Linked DNA regions of Homo sapiens: regions 1, 2, 3, 5, 6 and 7 are each linked to region 4. Evidence: promoter capture Hi-C in 16 types of primary human blood cells and fetal thymus (Javierre and others, 2016). All regions are on one chromosome and are shown on one strand. Each heading gives the region's core, a stretch centred on a gene start or on the middle of the fragment in contact. The rest is flanking DNA. Distances are from core to core; before and after follow the strand shown.

Evidence for each region. The method cuts DNA at HindIII sites, captures the fragments that hold promoters and counts their contacts. A CHiCAGO score of 5 or more calls a contact.
Region 1: a fragment that was not itself captured here is called in contact with the fragment with the promoter of KCNQ5-AS1 in region 4 in 11 of 17 cell types (naive CD8 T cells, fetal thymus, non-activated CD4 T cells and 8 more); the score reaches 11.5 in naive CD8 T cells.
Region 2: a contact is called between a fragment that was not itself captured here and the fragment with the promoter of KCNQ5-AS1 in region 4, in 16 of 17 cell types (naive CD8 T cells, naive CD4 T cells, total B cells and 13 more). The highest score is 16.4, in naive CD8 T cells.
Region 3: a fragment that was not itself captured here is called in contact with the fragment with the promoter of KCNQ5-AS1 in region 4 in 2 of 17 cell types (total B cells and total CD8 T cells); the score reaches 7.2 in total B cells.
Region 5: a contact is called between a fragment that was not itself captured here and the fragment with the promoter of KCNQ5-AS1 in region 4, in 14 of 17 cell types (fetal thymus, naive CD8 T cells, activated CD4 T cells and 11 more). The highest score is 11.3, in fetal thymus.
Region 6: a contact is called between a fragment that was not itself captured here and the fragment with the promoter of KCNQ5-AS1 in region 4, in 14 of 17 cell types (activated CD4 T cells, naive CD4 T cells, naive CD8 T cells and 11 more). The highest score is 12.5, in activated CD4 T cells.
Region 7: a contact is called between a fragment that was not itself captured here and the fragment with the promoter of KCNQ5-AS1 in region 4, in 12 of 17 cell types (naive CD8 T cells, activated CD4 T cells, fetal thymus and 9 more). The highest score is 11.7, in naive CD8 T cells.

Annotation. Positions count from the first base shown.
Region 1 is chr6:72,500,959-72,503,658 of GRCh38, forward strand. No RefSeq gene overlaps it. Among named protein-coding and RNA genes, the nearest start is that of KCNQ5, 120 kb to the right of the region's middle. The HindIII fragment of the contact is 5,950 bases long and covers 1-2,700 here.
Region 2 is chr6:72,438,830-72,441,529 of GRCh38, forward strand. No RefSeq gene overlaps it. Among named protein-coding and RNA genes, the nearest start is that of KCNQ5, 180 kb to the right of the region's middle. The HindIII fragment of the contact is 710 bases long and covers 957-1,666 here.
Region 3 is chr6:72,544,098-72,546,797 of GRCh38, forward strand. No RefSeq gene overlaps it. Among named protein-coding and RNA genes, the nearest start is that of KCNQ5, 77 kb to the right of the region's middle. The HindIII fragment of the contact is 511 bases long and covers 1,141-1,651 here.
Region 4 is chr6:73,142,256-73,144,955 of GRCh38, forward strand. It overlaps KCNQ5-AS1 (KCNQ5 antisense RNA 1), which reads right to left and starts at 1,259. Exons shown (of 5, transcript NR_046621.1): 1 at 1,171-1,259. The region is part of intron 10 of KCNQ5 (potassium voltage-gated channel subfamily Q member 5); the gene reads left to right. The HindIII fragment of the contact is 1,820 bases long and covers 972-2,700 here.
Region 5 is chr6:72,526,078-72,528,777 of GRCh38, forward strand. No RefSeq gene overlaps it. Among named protein-coding and RNA genes, the nearest start is that of KCNQ5, 95 kb to the right of the region's middle. The HindIII fragment of the contact is 4,994 bases long and covers 1-2,700 here.
Region 6 is chr6:72,459,073-72,461,772 of GRCh38, forward strand. No RefSeq gene overlaps it. Among named protein-coding and RNA genes, the nearest start is that of KCNQ5, 160 kb to the right of the region's middle. The HindIII fragment of the contact is 679 bases long and covers 1,005-1,683 here.
Region 7 is chr6:72,484,966-72,487,665 of GRCh38, forward strand. No RefSeq gene overlaps it. Among named protein-coding and RNA genes, the nearest start is that of KCNQ5, 140 kb to the right of the region's middle. The HindIII fragment of the contact is 2,087 bases long and covers 226-2,312 here.

The DNA of each region.
Region 1 (2,700 bases), core at 47-2,546, 640 kb before region 4:
AATGTCTGACCAAATATCTGGGTACCTCCTGTCCTAGTCAAGTTGACACCAAAAACGAACTATCACAGTGTGTGCTTGTGTGTCTATGTTTAAAATACCTAGCACCCAGATCTTGGTTACTAAATGCTATTCTCTCTTGAAAAAAATTAGGGCTTCTTGTTGAAATAGCTGAATCCAAGGCTGGGCAGGGAAAGTACAAGATGAGTCTGGAACATTTTGTTATGCCATAAAGAGTGCTGAAAGAATAATGAGGACATGTCTAACAGCATAGGAAGCAGCTTAAAGAAGCTCCCACTGGCCAAATCCAGGACAACTTGAACATCAAAATAAATTATAACAACAACATCAATAAATTACAACATCAAATAAAATAAGAATCCATCAGCCCATACTCATGGGCTAAGTATAAGTTTGTTAATTAATATGTTAATTAATTATAAGTTAATATGTTAGCTGCTAATTAATATAAGTTAGTATATTATATGTTAATATAAGCTAATTAATTGAAAGTTCGATGAGAGATGGGACATTTACATAATCTCAGAATACATCCCCATTATTCTTTCATTCCAAAGGGAAAAGTAATAGCTTTCCAGTGGAGAATCCTGGCAGGCACTACTTTAAACAAGTAATCAACATTAATATTACCAGTAATAGGACAATTCAAATCAGGTACTGGGTGATAAATGCAATGAGGAAAATGCAATATAACTTTTACGGTACTCCTGTAAGAAATAAAATGCATATATGGAATTTAATTATGAGGAAACACACAAAAAAACTAAAATTGAGGGACATTCTACAAAATAGCTGACCTTTTTATCTTCAAAAGTGTCGAGATCATGAAGTCAAGGAAAGATTTAGGATCTGTTCCAAATTGAAGGAGAATAAAGAGACATGACAACTAAATGCAACATTTGATTCTGAACTGGATCCTTTTGTTATTTGAATAATTGATAAAATGTAAATGGAGTCTGAAGTTACATGAGAGTCATATATTTATATGAATTTACTGATATTGATGGTTTACAGTAATGTAAGATAAAGTCTTCAGTTATAAGAAATACTCATTAGGCCAGGCGTGGTGGCTCACGCCTGTAATCCCAGCACTTTGGGAGGTTGAGGGTGGCAGATCACTTGAGGTCAGGAATTTGAGACCAGCCTGGCTAACATGGTGAAACCCTATCTCAACTAAACATACAAATTAGCCAGGCATGCTGCATGCCTGTAGTCTCAATTAATCCGGAGGCCTGAGACATGAGAACCGCTTGAACCCAGGAGGCACAGGGTGCAGTGAGCCAAGATAGTGTGTGCTGCTGCACTCCAGCCTGGGCGACAGAGTAAGACTGCACCTCAAAGAAAAAAAAAAAAAAAAAAAGAAAGAAAAGAAAAGAATACTCATTAAAGTATTCTGGGTTGATGCAGTATCACATAATCCTCTTACTCAAACTCAGAGGAAAAAGTTCTTCATTCCCTTTTTGCAACTTTTCTCCACGCTTTAAATTGTTTCATAAATGTATTTATATAAATATTTTATTACATTAGCAATCAGGAATATCCCTGTTTCATTTAGAATACAGCTCTTTCACAATATTTCCTTAACTTTTATGTCTGTTTACTTTAGGGTGAAGTCACAGTAATAATTATAAACTTCATATTATAAATTTCTATTATATTTTTTAATTAAGAAAAAAATCTCAGGTTTGAATTTTTATTATGTAAAAACCTTATCAAGTAGCAGTACTTGAATATACCTAGTCATAGGGAGAACATTCCTGTATTTCCTTCTTGGACAACTCTCTTTTCAGAAACTTTCCCTATATGATAAACACTCCCTTACACTTAGATAAAACTGCTTTAACCATTACTATCACTCATCTCTTTTTTTGGTATTTCACTGTGAGGACACTTATTAGTTCTTTCTTGCTGTTTCCTTAGATATTCTTAGCCTTTGTCTCCTGGAAACTCTTATTTCACTTGACTCTGTGACAAGTTTTTGTTATCTTCCTTTTACCTCTTTAGGAATCGCTTCTTAGTAGTATTCATAAATGCTTTTCCCTCTGATCGTCCCTAAAATATTGATGTTCCTCTGGGTTCTGCTCTCATGTCCCATCTCATCCTCCATTACACAATCTTCCTGAATCACCTTTTCAAAGTCTTGATCATCACCCATGTCCTGATGGTCTCAAATCTCTGTTGGATCCAGATATCACTCCCAAGCACAGACCTGAATGGCCCACTGCCTAAAAACCACATAAATACTTGTATCCCTTGGGTATATCAAAATGAGCAAGTACAAAACCAAACTCATCACCAAATCCCATCCTCTCTCAAGTTCCTTCCACCAGGCTTGGTGCTCTCGCTTATTCCTCCCTCAGTGAAGTGCATCACCATCAATCTAGAGGCAAAGCAGCAAACAAGATCTTTTTAAACTTCCTTATTATTTATCAAATCCATATATATATTAAATATAAATATATATTTCTCTCCCTTTCCCACTGCCTTAGTGGGACCACAGTTCAGACCACAGTTATTTCTTCCCTGAATTATAGCTTCATAGATGGGGCCCTGGACAGAAGTTTTGCTCCTCTGCAATTTTTCTTCATGGTGATTGTATTAGTCAGAGTTCTCTAGAGGGACAGAACTAATAGGACAGAAATACATATCTATGGGAGTTTATTAAGGAGTGTTAACTCACAC
Region 2 (2,700 bases), core at 62-2,561, 700 kb before region 4:
AATCGTGAGTCTCTCCTGCTGTCCTGTTGGCATTTTCAATACTAATAGATAGTTTAAAAGTTTACAGAAAACAAATATATATTCTGAAAAAATGCATGGATTTTAAATTTTTTGCACCAAAATATACTTGTACTAACTTTTTATAACATGCCTCAACAGCATCTAATTTGAGCCACTAAGAAGGATAAGATATGAGTTTCAAGAGAGCCCCAATCAGAGCAACATGAACTCTGCTAAAATTAAAGCAAGAATGAACATCAATTTATGGTAAAACTTGCGTGGAAGAATGATGAAATAAATAATGCTTTATGAAAGTTTATGGGGAAAATGTCCCAAATAAATCAGCAGTTTACAAGTGAATAACTCATTTCAAGAGGGAATGAGATATTGTTGAAGATGAAGCTCACAGTGCCATACCATCCACACATACTTGCAAGGAAACACTCATCTTGTTTGTGTCCCAATTGAAAAGGACCAGCAATTAACAGCAGAAACAGTAGCCCAACACCATAGGCATCTTAACTTATTCAGCTTACACAGCTGTGAACTAAAAATTAAAGCAGAGCAAACTTTCCACTTGGTAAGTGCCAAAAATGTTGTGCCCACTTGAGCTACAGACAAGATCAGAGTTTTCAATTGAAATTTTAAACAAGTAGGATCAAGATCCTGAAGCATTTCTTTGAAGAATTGTAACAGGAGATAGACAAGGCTTTACTAGTATGATCCCAAAGACAAGCACAATCAAAGCAATGGCTACCAAGAGGTGGAAGAGGTCCAGTCAAAGCAAAAGTGGATTAATCAAGAACAAAGATCACGGCAGTTTTGGGGATGCTCAAGGCATTTTGTGTGTTGACTTTCCAGGAGCAGGGGGTGGGACGCAAAAACAATAACATCTGCTTATTATGAGTGTGTTTGAAGGAAGTTAGCCAAAGTTTTAGAAGAAAAACACCTGGGAAAGCTTCACCAGAGAGTCTGCCTCCTCCATGACAATGCTCTTGCTCATTCCTTTCATCAAACAAGGGCAATTTTGTGAAAGTTTTGATGGAAAATCGTTAGGCTTTCACCTTACAGTCTTGATTTAAATTCTGCTAACTTCTTTTGTTTCCTAATATTTAACTAATCTTTAAAGGGCACCATTTTTCTTCAGTTACTAATGTAAAAAAAGATGGCATTGACATGGCTACATTCCCAACTCTCATTTCTTTAAGGATGGACTAAATGACTGGTATCATAGCTTTCAGAAGTGTCCCGAACTTGATGGGGCTTATGTTGAAAAATAAAGTTGGCAATTTTTGTCTTTTAATTCCATTTTTCCATGTATTTTTTGAAGTCCCCCCGTATTTGGGTTGGTCCTTGTAAGAAGTAGTGAGCCATTTTCTCTCATCTTCCTCACTGCTGAACATCTCAGGTCACACGTGATTTTGTCAAGTGCCTTTCTTCCATGGCCCTGAGGTTTGCAGTGAGTAACTCCCCAGTAAGTGACGTTTGTATTCTCCCATCCTTAACCCCTAACTCACCTCTGTGCTTGCCCATTTTCCCCATCACACAACCCCTGCCTAAAAGAAATCTGTGAATTTTCCCCATGAGGAAACTAATGAAGTCCTAACCCCAAATGAAGAGTGGGTTCCTTCCTTCCTCCAAACAAGTTATATAAAATGCTTCTCTAAGCTTCACCAGTAGGCTATACTTCTGGTTTTTTTGTCTGTTTGTTTTTTGCTTTTTTTTTCAGAAGATATATTATTCTGCTAAGAATCCTAGTGGAATCATCAAAGGTCACTACTACTAAGAAGAGCATTTTGACAAAAGACCCTTCCTCAAGGACCTCTGTGCTTTCTGACAGAGTGAAAATTTAAAAAAAAAAAATCTCTGAAAAGGAGAAAATCAAATGAAAGTCATTCCAAAAGAGCACCATATGGCCCACAAGATGTGTGGGTATGGAAGACTCATGCAATGAGGGAAACACACAGATTCTGGAAATCAAAAATGAGCCCCCCCACCCCCCACAAAGTAGGTCATCCCTCATAGCCAAATTCTGAGACCAAATTTCTCATCGCATACTTCTAATTTAGTTTACCTCTGTTGGCATAAGTATGTTCATTTAAAAGTGAATTTCATTCTCACCTCAGCATGGCTCATATTTGTGGTATAGCTAAATGGCTTCATCTTGAGGGTGATGTTGTGCAGCATATGTTACTAAAGTATAGCATCATCTTCTGATTTGAAAAAAAAGAAATGTACATTTGAACTCACTTTGGAAGCATATGTATACAAAATTGTTCTCCTTTACAATAGCTAGCATTGTCATAAAAATTGAAAGTAGGTTCAGAATTAGTAAAGAACTCTCATGGCTTCCTTCAGGACAGGGTTTCTCAACCTTGGTACTATTGACATTTGGGGCTAGATAATTTTTAATAGATTTCACTTTTTAGAGAAGTATAAAATTCGAGCAGAAGGTACAGAGGAGTCTCTTCTACCACTGTACCCAATAATTCCAATAATTTTTTTGTAGGGAGATGTCTTGTGCATTTTAAGATGTTCAGCAGCATCCCTGGCCTCTTCCACTAGATGCCAATAGCATCTTGCTGTTGTGAGGACCAAAAGTATCACCAGACATTGTCAAATGTCTCCTGGTTAAAATCACCAGGCAAAATCACCACTAGTTAAACATTATTCTTTCAGAGCTGGGCCTTACCCCTACAG
Region 3 (2,700 bases), core at 146-2,645, 600 kb before region 4:
TTTTCATTTTCATTCATCTCAAACTATTTTCCAATTTCCCTTCTGATTTCTTATGTGACCCATTGGTTATTTAGGAATGTGAGGTTTGATTTCTACATCTTTGTTCACTTCTAAAATTTTCTTCTGTTAATGATTTCTAATTTTATTCTATGGTAGTCAGAGAATATACTTTGCATGACTTTCATTCTTTTAAATTTAACAAAAGTCATAGCCAAACTTATAATGAATCTTACAGAATGTTCCATGTGCACTTCAGAAAAATGTGTATTCTGCTGTTTTTGAGTGTAGTGTTCTGTATCTGTCTGGTTGGTATTTAATGTTGTCCAAGCCTTCTATTTTCTTGATGGTGTAACAAGGCCCTAACTCTCTTCTATTCTATGAAGGCCAAGAGAGATGAGAAAAACTAGAGAAGAAAAGTTGGAAGCTGGCAGAGACTGGTTCATGAAGTTGAAGAAGCCATCTCCACAACCTAAAATTGCAAAGTGAAACAGTAAGTGCTCATGTAGAAGCTGCAGCAAGTTATCCAGAAGATCCAGCTAAGATAATTAATGAAAGTGGCTACACTAAACAATAGATTTTCAAGGTAGAAAAAATAGTCTTTTGTTGGAAGAAAGTGCCACATAGGATTTCCATAACTGGAGAGGAAAGTCAATGCCTTGTTTCAAAGCTTCAAGGGAAAGGCTGATTCTCTTGTTAGGGGCTCATGCAGTTAGTGACTCTAAATCGCAGCCAATGTTCATTTACCATTCTGAAAATTTTAAGACTTTTTAAAATTATGTTAAATCTATTCTTCTGGCGCTCTATAAATTGAACATAGCCTGGATGATGCCACTTCTGTCTACAGCATGGTTTCCTGTATATTTTAAACCCATTGTTGAGATCTACTTCTCAGAAGAAAAGATTTCTTTCAACATATTACTGGTCATTGACAATGCGCCTGGTTACTCAAGAGCTCTGATAAAGATATACAAGGAGATAAATGTTATTTTAATGGCTTATAACACAATATTCATTCTGCAGCCCATGGATCGAGTAGCAATTTCTACATTTAAGTCTTATTACTTCAGAAATATATTTTGTAAGGCTATAGTTACCATAGGTAGTTATTCCTCTCATGGATCTGGGCAAAATAAATTTCAAAGCTTCTGGAAAGAATTCATCATGATAAATGCTTTAGAATATTAGTAATTCATGAGAGGAGGTCAAAAAACCATCAATAATAGGAGTTTGGAAGAAGTTAACCTAACCCTCATGGATAACTTTGAGGAGTTGAAGACTTCACTAGAGAAAGTAACTACGGATCTGGTGGAAATAGCAAAAGAATTAGAATTAGAAATGGAGCCTAAAGATGTGACTGAATTGCTGCAATCCCCTGATAAAACTTGAACAGATGAGGAGTTGCTTCTCATGGATGAGCAAAGAAAGTAGTTTCTTGAGATGGAATCTACTACTGGTAAAGATACTGTCAGCATTGTTAAATGGCAACACAAGATTTAGAAAAGTATGTAAACTTAGTTGATAAAGCAGTGGCAGGGTTTGAGAGGACTGACTTCAATTTTGAAAGAAGTTCTACTATGGGCAAAATGCTATCAAATAGCATCACACACTACAGATAATATTTTCGTAAAAGAAAGAGTCAATTGACGAGGCAAGCTTCATTGTCTTATTTTAAGAAATTGCCATAGCCACCCCAACCTTCAGCAGCCACCCTTGATCAGTCAGTAGCCATCATCATTGAGGCAAAACCCTCCACCAGCAAAAAGATTATGACTCGTTGAAGGCTCAAGCAATCATTAACATTTTTTAGCAATAAAGTATTTTTAAATTATAATATGTACATTTTTAACATAATGCTATTGCATACCAAATACACTACAGTATAGTGTAAACATAATTGTATATGTGCTAGGAAACCCAAACATTTGTATGACTTACTTTATAGAGATATTTGCTTTGTTAAGGTGGTCTGGAATCAAATCCACAACATCTCCAAAGTATGCCTGTAGTTCTAACAAAGCTGAAAATATTTACATTTGGCCCTTTATGTTTTTAGCCTTTGGAACTAAGGTGTTGATACTGAATTTTAAGAGAAAATAAAGAACAGAGCCCCTAATCCATGCAAGAATGTGTACAAATTATGTTTACATTGCATTTTAAATACATAGAAAGGGAAGAATAAATTATTAAAGAACACTTATTTGATCAATAAAATTTCTTAATATAAAAGAGAAAGCCTTAAGGGAAATATTGGCAAATCTACTGTCCAATTGGCTTTTTCCACAACTCAACCTTTGTGTATGGGTGTGAGATTTTTAATATAATTTGCATATCACTGTATTATTAAACTTTCCATCAATTTTGTACGGAAAATTATAACTTGATATTAGGCAATGGCATGGCTCTAAACTTACGCAGTATCAGAGAAGATGTATTCCAAATTTATAGGATAGTCTTAATCTAAAGTGAAGAGAATGTATATGTATTAAATAATAGTATTTTGCAGTTTCACAGATATTATTTTAAAAGCATAGCCACTTGAAAGCAGAATAGACATTGACCAGTGGACTCAATCTTAAGCCCACCTAGAGAGACAAGAAAACTGGTTAGGATCTTACCGACCTCAGGTAAACAGAGAATTTCATGCTTATTTGTCACTAACACAATGTACTGCAGGCAGTACGCATAGTTTTGCTTATCAAA
Region 4 (2,700 bases), core at 9-2,508:
GGGTAATACCAGGAGATGAGGGCCACTGGGGACCATGTTAGAGTCAGGCTACCACAAATGCCTTCAGATAGATTATGTCTTTTAAATTGCAGATTTCAACCAGTCCCTATTGTCTTTCCAGGAACCCAAACCACCAATTCCCCATTCCTTTCGACCTCTCCGTTACCTACCTGCCTTTAACGACATGGGTTTATAACTTCTGGTCTAACCATTTTATGTCCAGTATCCTTTGTATTATATCTCAAAAAAAAAAAAAAATCCTGGCCTCAACCTATAGCTACGCAATTATATTCCACTCTTAGTGCAGACTCTCAAAAGGAATATTAACAAAATATTGAGTATGTGATTACTGCAGCAACAAGTTAAATAAAATGAGGAGGCCAGGTGCGATGGTTCATGCCTGTAATCCCAGCACTTTGGGAGGCTGAGGGGGATGGATCACCTGAGGTCAGGAGTTCGAGACCAGCCTGGTCAACATGGTGAAACCCTGTCTCTACTAAAAATACAAAAATTAGCCAGGCGTGGTGGCGGGCACCTGTAATCCCAGCTACTCAGGAGGCTGAGGCAGGAGAATCACTTGAATCCAGGAAGAGGAGGTTGCAGTGAGCTGAGATTGCACCCTTGCACTCCAGCCTGGGCGACAAGAGCAAGACTCCATCTCGAAAATAAATAAATAAATAAATTGAGGGAGCAGGACATGAACTAGTCAGTTGCAAAACCAAAGTGTCATAACTTCTAACGCAGCTCTCTTTCTTGTACAATGTATGGCCCCTCTTCAGCTTTTCAAGAGGTTGAAGATATGTTCTTGGTTGCTTCAAAGGGCAGAAGCAGAACTAAAAGGTGTGTGATACCAATATTTAGTTCAATATAATGGCAGCTTAGCACTTAGAGACTCCACAGCAATTGAGTGGATTCCATAATTGGAAGCATTCAAATCAAAGTTGGATGATCAACAGTCAGGAATTTCTGGAAGCTTAAGGAGATCAAACCAGAAAACCTCTAAGAAATTTTCTTCCAAATCTGAGTTTTTATAATCTGCTCTTCTGGACCAATGCAAAGTATCTTCCTTAGCCATTAACTCGTATCCTCACTAGCAATTCTATACTAAGAAATAGAAGAGGAAAGCAAGGATTGGCTGAGGAATGCCAGGAGTGAGTTTTCTGTCCTTACCCTAGTTTCACGTCTCTTTGATACCGAGAAAAGTGCTACCCGCTGCTTCTTGCCTCTCATTCCTCCCACTGTTTCTTTTCCACTTTCACTGTCAGCCATAGTCCTTTCTGTCCTAAGAAGTGTATCAGGTGTGTCCCACCCACCATTGTGAGGTTTATGTGTGTGCTCCATAGCGGCTCATTCTTAGAACTTGAATAAGCCCTCCACTGGATTTCAATTCATATCAGAAGGTATTTGAGGGCTGCTACTCAGAGCTAGCATGTTTCTGGGCATTTAGAAGGCAGGGAGGAGGCGTGACAACTGTCACCCCAAAGAACTTACTGTTTGTCTGTAAGTTTTACCACCCCAGCCCACCTCAGTTACAGTATTGATTGGCACTGAGGGGAACAAAAGGCACCTTCCTCATTCTTCAGACTTCATAGTTTTCAGAAATAACCTGTGGGTGACGTCCAAAATTCGCACAAAATAAGCACAAAATTAACCATTACACAAATCACAGAATTTAGCCCATATTTAAGAGAAGCACTTTTCAGCTGCATGGTGATTTTTCCTTCATATATCTCAAATTATTTCCTTCAAAGTCACACTTAGTTGTCTGCTGCATAAACAGAAACCAATATGACACAATTTTAAAATTATATTTAATCGCTTTCATGGTGTGCTCTACTTGGTAAAGAAGGGGGGAAACAAGGTTAAGTAAAGGCCAGGATCCTTTTTCTGCAATGGATGACTGACATGGGAAAGAGATGAGTTACCCAGGCTTTGCTTTTTGCTACCTGCAGTATAAAACTCCCTGACATTGTCCCAAATTGCTTTTACAGGTATTTTATTTTCAACATCTAATTTGTTCGGCTTTTCTTCCCTTGCCATCTTTTTCTTCTTTTGCCATGTATAATGCATAACAACAATTTCTGAACTCCAAAAGCATAGAAACCTCAGAATAACATTACCTGGGAAAAATTAATCTCTCTACCTCCAGCTACCAAGAGAATCATTTGCACATGAAACCCTGAGATTTGCGTCTTTCATTAATCTAATGCAGTAGCAATTGTTATACCACATCGTTCTATTGGAATTGATGACTAATCATTCCCAAAACTCTTTTGAAACTATTGTTCCCATAATTTTGTGTTTTGATTGAAAAATGTCATGACCCTATATCTCTTCATGTTATCTGTTGCATAGCTAACCCTCTCCCTCAGATTTAGTGGCTTAAAACAGCAACCATTTGTTTAGCCCACAATTCTGTTAGGCAGTTCTTCTGGTCTTAAGTGAACTGACTCATGCTCTGTGTTCAGCTGCTGTGTTGGCTGGTGCTGACTGGACTAAGGTGGTCTCAGTTAGAATTACTGCTCTTTGCTCATGTGGTCTCTCATCCTCCAGCAGGCTGGGCTGGTTCACATGGTGGTGGTGGGTTCCCAAGAGCAGTACATTGATATCTGAAGGCCTCTTGAAGTTCAGGCTCAACCTATCACAGTATAATGTCCACTATGTCCTGTTGGTCAAAGCAAATGGCAAGGACAGCCCACA
Region 5 (2,700 bases), core at 199-2,698, 620 kb before region 4:
AGAATAAGCCGATGTCTTCCTCCTTAACATTGGACCCATTGGTTCTAGCTTTGCTTTCCTAAGTCACACAGAAGAAATTGAATCCATCTTCTGTGTAAAACCCACATACTAAAAGACCACCCATCATGTATCCCCCTTCAGATCTACATTCTATAAGTTAAACATCCCATTTCTCCAACCATGTGATATGGTTTCTAGACAGCTAGCTATTCCAAACATCTCCCTCTGGACATCCTTTAGGAATCTCAGCTATCATTGAACAGATGCTTCCTGGTAATGTCTAATCAACACAAAATCCAGCAAGACCACTTAGACACTTTCTATAAACCCAGGCTAAACCACAGGAGCTTTCTTGGCAGACACATCTGCTTTTTATTCATTGAACTCACAATCAGCTAAGCCAAATATTCTGTACCCTGGAATTGTACAATTTAACTTCTGAACCAGAACATATAACTTTACATTTAGATCTCTTAAAAGTCTTTATGTAACAGTTATCCCAGCATCGAATGCTCTTTACTGTCATTCTCAATTTCTGTTTCTTTATCCATAATATTAATTATTGTTCCTTAATTTTTAATCTCTGAACTTGACTGACATGTCTTTGACATATTTTTCTAAGCCCACTTATTTATACTATTGAATAGAACAGAATGAAAGACAGGTCTTTTGATATGTCTCTACAAAAATCCACTCAGATTGCCATAAATCCAGTGATATTTCCCATTCTCTTCTGGGCAGGGCCACTCTGGCCCATCTATTCCAGCCTGACTTTCATAAATAACTATCCCTCCCTGCTATTTTCTGTAACTTGGGAAGATATAGAAAAATCTATCAGCAGTTTACCAACTTTTTACAGAAACACCATTTCCCCCATGTATTCAAGGACATACTGACCTACACAATGGTGGATACAATTAAGATAGTTACTATTTATGAGTTGTAGGATGGATACATTTAAGGATTCTTGTTTGTCCCAAGGCCCTTTGCATAGTATATCCTGCACATATATCATCTCAGCTACCCCGTACTCTGTAAAAGAAAAGAAATGCTAGGTGTGTTCAACCCCAAACCAAATTTTGTGTGGCCTGAAAGGGTAAAGTTAGAATTGATAGTCCAAGATTTAGAGAGAATGATGTTGATTCATTATGAGGACTGACTATAAATAACATGGAAGCAGCACCCTGAGTGGAGAAAGCGTTCATACAATGTGTTTATACTTAAAGGCACTGACTTATTCCAGGCAAAGGAGATAAAGTGTAGTCTCAAGACATTTCAACTCTGTATTGTATCTCTGCTAACATCTACCCCATGTGCAAGAACGTGAATGGGTATCCTCATCTCAACCATCATCTTTCTACCATGGTGTTCAACCCAAGTCCTTCAACACCAGGCACTATCTCATGCTCTAGACCTTTCTTTATCCCACACACATCCAAACCAAGAACATACAGCTCATGTTTAACATCCTTTTAAAAGGTAACTATTTTACTAAGCCAACATTGTAATTAATATATCAACACACCAAATAACATTCACATTTTAGCAAAGGCTGTCAATGTCCTAAACCAATGAAGTAGATATTGAATATTTTACATCATGTTAAGCAAATCGCCATATTTCTCCACTGACATGCAAAGCCAGCTGTGAAACCATAACCTCTGTGAAGCTGGAAAAGCTGACCTGTGTGTAGGTGACTTGCCCAAAGTAGAATTGATTACTATCTTTATTTTTATTTTATGTATGAGTGATCAGCCCTGTTTACCTTGCCTAGTTAGAATTAAATACATAATTTTATCTACTTAATAGATTATATATGTATGACCAGCTCTGTTCTCTGCCTGGTTAATGAAGAGCTTTTATCCCAAAGTTTAGTTTTCATATACGCTTAAACATCCTATTGAGAACAAAATGTCATAAAACATTCAAAAGCAATACTCAAAAAGTAATTATCCACAAAAACTATAGTGATAGCATCAATATAACGAAGACATTGTAACAACCAGCCCTGAATGTCAACATTCACTATAGAAGATCTCAGGCACTGCAGCTGAAGCTGCATCCCAGCCTCACATTGAAATGTAATCAACTTTTTAAAACTGTCATAACAACATCTGTTTCCAAATAACAATTTGCTAAATTTTGAATGTTTTCACCCAATTTAATTGAAGTTAAAGTAGTTCATATATATGTAAACATATATGCACATTTTCTGATTGCTCACAAGAAATTTCAGGAAAAACTTTATTAGTCTCCAAAACTTTTATGGCAGTCCTAGCAAGTTTAACAATGAAAGGTCTTGTTTTTGAGGGTTAGCATCAAGTAGTTTGTTAAAGAAAAATTATTATTAAAAATGTATACTATCACAGTGTAATCAGGATTTAGAAGGGACTTTGAGGCCAGGCATGGTGGCTCATGCCTGTAATCCCAACACTTTGGGAGGCCAAGGCGGGCAAATCACTTGAGGTCAGGAGTTCCAAACCAACCTGGCCAACATGGTGAAACCCTATCCCTACTAAAAATACAAAAATTAGCTGGGCATCATGGCCCATGCCTATAATCCCTGATACTTGAGAGGCTGAGGTGGGGAGGATCACTTGAATCCGGGAGGTGGAGGTTGCAGTTAGCCAAGACTGCACGACTGCATTCCAGCCTGGGTCACAGAGTGAGATTCTGCCTCAAAAAAAAAAAAAAAAAAAA
Region 6 (2,700 bases), core at 94-2,593, 680 kb before region 4:
TTAATAATTGGAACTCTCCCTCATTCTTCCTATGCTATGTGTACTTCTAGAGTCTTTAAAGCAGTTGTTGGCGACGTGGAAAAGAAGGAGTCAATTGTGTCTGCACATAATTTTTTCAACTTGGTCAACTGAGCCTCTCACTTGAGAGGGTCACAGCTATATGGTTATGTCCATTTTTTTTCCCCATGAACCAAGAGACAGCATATTTTTAGAATTTCAAATGTCAATAAAAAGCATCAAAGGGTAATATATAAGATCATCTTTTTTTTAACTTTGGAATTCATTTATAGTTTAACACTATTGCAAATAGAGCCAGTTTCACTTTTCACCTTACAGCCTAAGAATCTTTCACAGGAAAGATTATTTCATTTTGTATTAATAACGTACCTATTATACAGTGGCATCAAAACAATGGGAGTGCTGCGTTAACGAAAAGAAAATGGGACTCCCGCCCTCAAGACTGAATTTTCAGTGAATTTACTATATAACTAAAAATGCCTAAGACCAATTCACACAACACTCATCGATACCCAGGCAGCACAAAAGGTAGTGATATAACAAGTCTTTTGAATCTTGTTTTATGTTGCCCAAGTTTAGGTTGGACTCCCTGAAATCTGTGGTTCGGTTTTATATTAAATTTTGTATTAGTTTAAATGAAAGGGCTTGAACAATATCCAGTGAAGCTGGTGATAATAATTGAGATAATAATATTCTTATTCCTTCACTTTACAGCTGTGTGACTTTGAACGAGGGACTTAACCCCTGTAGCTCTGTTTCTTCTTCTGTGAGTTTGGAAAAATCATACCAACATTGCAAGGTTGCTGTTGAGAGTTACATGTCAGTATTCTTGTATGTGATGGTACAATATGCTTGGCACACTGTGTGCATACAATGCTTGAAGACTTTATATTTCCATGATTATCAGATTAGTATTAGCTTCTGGAGGAAGCCAAACCTGTAACACAAGGGAGGGACCCACTGATAATAGGAGACAAATGGATTGAAGCTTTTAAACATAGCCAAGTCTCTCCTTATGGCTGCTTCCCAAAAGCAACAGCTTCCATTTAAATCTTTGAAAATACAACAAGATGAAGTGCTTTTCAGATGACAGGGTCCACTCCAAGACACAAGTGGCTTTTACATGGAAAATAACTGGATAATCAAAACAATATCTAAAGCCTCCTGTCAGACATTATCCTTTTCTGCTATGATTCATTTTACTTCAGGTACAAACATCTCGGTGTCATTGTATGGTCTGGTTCCTTTTAGATGTCCTTTCAGATGGAAAGCAAAATGTATTTTTCAGGCTTTCTCAGACAGGAAAAGCAAAATGTAACTAATATATTTATGATTCTGTTTTGTTCAACTCAGTAAGTGTATTTTTTAAGCATTGTTCCAGAAAAGTAAAAATATGGCTCTCTTTACCAGAAGAGTTTGAGAAGGGAGAACTTTCTGAATGCCATCAAATAATTCACTGTGTTACTTAGTATCAGCCATTTATGTTTTCTACCATAGAAAAATTGACAGTAATAGTTTCTTCCTTAGGAAAAAGACATAGAAAATACAAAGTTAATATAATAATAATAGCCGATATTTGTTTATCACCACCTAGGAGTTATATGCTAATCTAAGCACTTCATATGTAATTAATAACATTTAATCCTCCTAATAACCCTATATGGAAGCTTCTAGAATTACCTCATTTTCAGATAAGGAAATGGAGGAACAGAGAGGTTAAATAGCTTGCCTAAAGTCATGGGACTAGTAAGTGGTAGATTCAAACCCAAGCAGTCTATCTCAAATCCTTACAAATATACATTGCTGCATTTCCAGTGAAATGACATATATAGATTCTTATCCCCCATAACAGACATTTAATGAATCAACCAAGATGCAAAAAATTTAATGTAGGAATTATCCTACCAAAGGTTTTTCTTGTTTATTTTTTTAAGTAAGGTGTGTTCCTCATGTCTAAGGTAAATATAGGTATATGGTTGCCTTTCTTTTCTGACAAGAAAGCCTGGTTCTTGGTACTCATCATGATGTAAAGAGGGTATACTCCTTGTAACTGTGCTGCAGTAGCTCCAGTGTAGTTCATCCTTTGAGTTCTAAGGCTATATTTCATATGCCTTCTCATGAGATTTTTCTAGAAGTCTTAGTTCAAAATGAATTGCCTACACGTCAGCATTCCCCAGCCACATTGAGTAACCACAAAGCCAGTTCCAGCTGTGCATCCTAACATTCTTGCAGCAGCCTCACTCTCCCCTCCACAACACACATCTTGCTTTGAGGTTGTTTTCCTCAGCTAAGCACAAAGTGCAAACATTTGCAACAAGCCTGCCAAGGCAGAAAAGAACTGAAATTGATGCTACCTCACTTAGTTTCTCTTTCTGATCCATATCATATTCTGCTGTCAGAGTAATCTCTCTTGAGTACCAGGCAGTTTTATTGATTTCCATTTTTCTACCATAGAAAATGAACGCATCACCTTCCTTCCAGGCCTCCTTTATCTGGTTTTTCCTTGACATTAAACCTTGCCTTCACTTCTCTAGCCAGGCTGGACTACTCCCTAACACAGTTTTAAGTCCCCTTTTCACATGTTTTGCCTTACTTGCTTAATTTTTCAATAAATATTTCTAAAGCACCTACTACGTACCAGGTATAAAGCATGGCACTTGTCAAGAATGACTTCCTCTCTCA
Region 7 (2,700 bases), core at 19-2,518, 660 kb before region 4:
TTTATCCAGTACTTACTGAGAGCCAAGCATTGTATAAATTATCATATTATATATGATCTAATTGAATTCTTATATAATCCTTATGTAATAAGAATTATTATTATCTTCATTTTAAGACTTGGAGGTTAAGTAACTTAATTTGCCCAAGGTGCATAATTAGTAAGCGGAAAAGCTAGAATCTGAACTCAGGTCTCTCTGACTCAACCACTCAAGCTTAACCACTCAAGCTTAACCACTCCACTACAATGCCAGGCACTAGATTAAAAGGAGAGCTGAGTTTGATGCTGGACTTCCACTACTCGCTGAAGTTACTTTTATAGCTGATTTAATTTCTCTTAGCCTCAATTTTCTCCTCTGTAAAATTAGGAGGTGGAACTAGAGCACTTTACAAATTTCTTTCTTTTTAAAATATACTATGAGTTTTCATGGCCTGAGGTAATTCTCAAACGTGCAAGAATCAAACTCTCAGACTTCTTCCACCCTGACTTTATTTTTCATTAAAAAAAGAAAGACATGGCTAGAAATCTCTGAACTTGAGCCTCATGTTGAGTTTTGATTTGGGAAGTATCATTGGTTTCACACAGCTTGTGAGATAAACGTTGATGGGTTCCAGCCTCACTCCGTACAAGTTGACCCCCTGTGCACATTTAGGAATTAGTATGAGACAGTATAATGGTTTCTGGGAAAGGGAACTTTTAAAATGTCTAAAAAGCAGACTCAAAACAGCAGAACCTATGTTAAACCCACAAAATCCTTCCCCATGTATAAAAATTTGGATAGGAAGTAGAAGAGTCCCTATCTATTTTCAAAGTTATTGGTTGGTGGAGGTATCACAAACTGTACTATTGTGTGGCCTCTTACAATTTCTTTTTGAAAATTATGAATTATATGCACAGGAGTATTGTACGTATATGAACAATGTGTACACATCATTCATCTTAAGGTGTAGAATATTAGCAGCATCTTTGAATTCCCTGGTGTGCCTTTCTCAGATCACATCCCCCTACCATCCTCCTGGGTTGACCTCTAATATGACTTTTGTATTAATTATTCTGTCACTTTTCTGTATAGTTTTGCCATTCATATATATACCAACAATGTAGTGTTTAGTTTTGCCTGTCTTCAAGCTGTATATAAATGGAATAATCATACTATATGAATTCTTCTATGATTTCCTGTTTTTTTGTTTTGTTTTGTTTTGTTTTGTTTTGTTTAGACGGCGTCTTGCTCTGTCGCCCAGGCTGGAGTGCAGGGTTGCGATCTCGGCTCACTCACTGCAAGCTCCGACTCCCGGGTTCACGCCATTCTCCTGCCTCAGCCTCCTGAGTAGCTGGAGTGCATGGTTGCGATCTCGGCTCACTCACTGCAAGCTCCGACTCCCGGGTTCACGCCATTCTCCTGCCTCAGCCTCCTGAGTAGCTGGGACTACAGGCGCCCGCCATCACGCCTGGCTAATTTTTTGTATTTTTAGTAGAGACGGAGTTTCACCGTGTTAGCCAGGATGGTCTCGAACTCCTGACCTCGTGATCCGCCCGCCTCGGCCTCCCAAAGTGCTGGGATTACAGGCGTGAGCCAGATTTCCTGTTTTTATTCTCTGCTATTCCTTTAAGATTTATCCATGTAGAGTGTGTAACTGTTTGTATTGTGTCACTGATGAATAGTATGCCATGGTATCAATATACCATAATTTATTTATCCATTCTAATGTTAATGCACTTGCAGATTATTTCTGGTTTTTTTGGTGTGTGTGTTACAAATTATGAACGTTCATTTGCCTCTTCCTGGTTACATACATGCAATAATTTCTCTAGCATTTATACGTAGGAGAGGGATTGCTGGATCTTAGTTAACATAGGCACTTGTCAATTCTAGTAAGCCAGATTGGTTTATCAATAGATTTTCAAAATTGTAACTTATCTATTAAAAATAGAGCATGAAAGAAGGCATAATCCTATTGCATTGTGAAACCTGGATTCCTGACTATAAATTAAGCATAATAAAGAATGCTGTGCTCACTTTGTACCAAATGACTTGGTATCAAGATATCAGTAAAGCCCACTGGAAGAACAGAGCATTAGGCTGTGTTGTACGACTGAATTAAGGAGAAATGGTTAGTTCATAAGAACTATAGGAAAATCAGCATAGGGATAGATACATAAAGAAAGCAGAAGGTAGAAACAGGAGGTCACTCTGTTCCTAGAAAAATAATTAGATGAGAAGTTCTTATTTTTTCTGTTAATAACTAGATATTTATGTTATTTCAGCCCCTAGAAGATGACCAGCACCTTGTGAACTCTGTATCAATGAATACAAGCTTACAAATCAGGAACACCAAAGAATCTGTATTGACTTTGCCTCACCTATCCTTCTCCCCATGCCTCAACCTTACTTCTCCCCATTTCACCCCAGCATTTCTATCTGTTCCAATTCAGCCATTATGAACTCCAAGAATAACTCCCTACTCATGCTTTTGATGAAATGGCATGGGAGTCACGGTGCAGAAGGAAAAACATCTCAATTTTTTACAGTAATTGACATTCTGAGGAATATATTCTTAGCAATATAAAAGACAATACAGAGTTCTCATTTGTTTTAAGAGTTTATACTTTTTTATGTTATAAAATCTCTTGGGAGTCATTACAAATGGCCCTCAAAAAAATTGCTCGACTATCCCTGCTCAATAGTTGTTTCCAAGCTGTA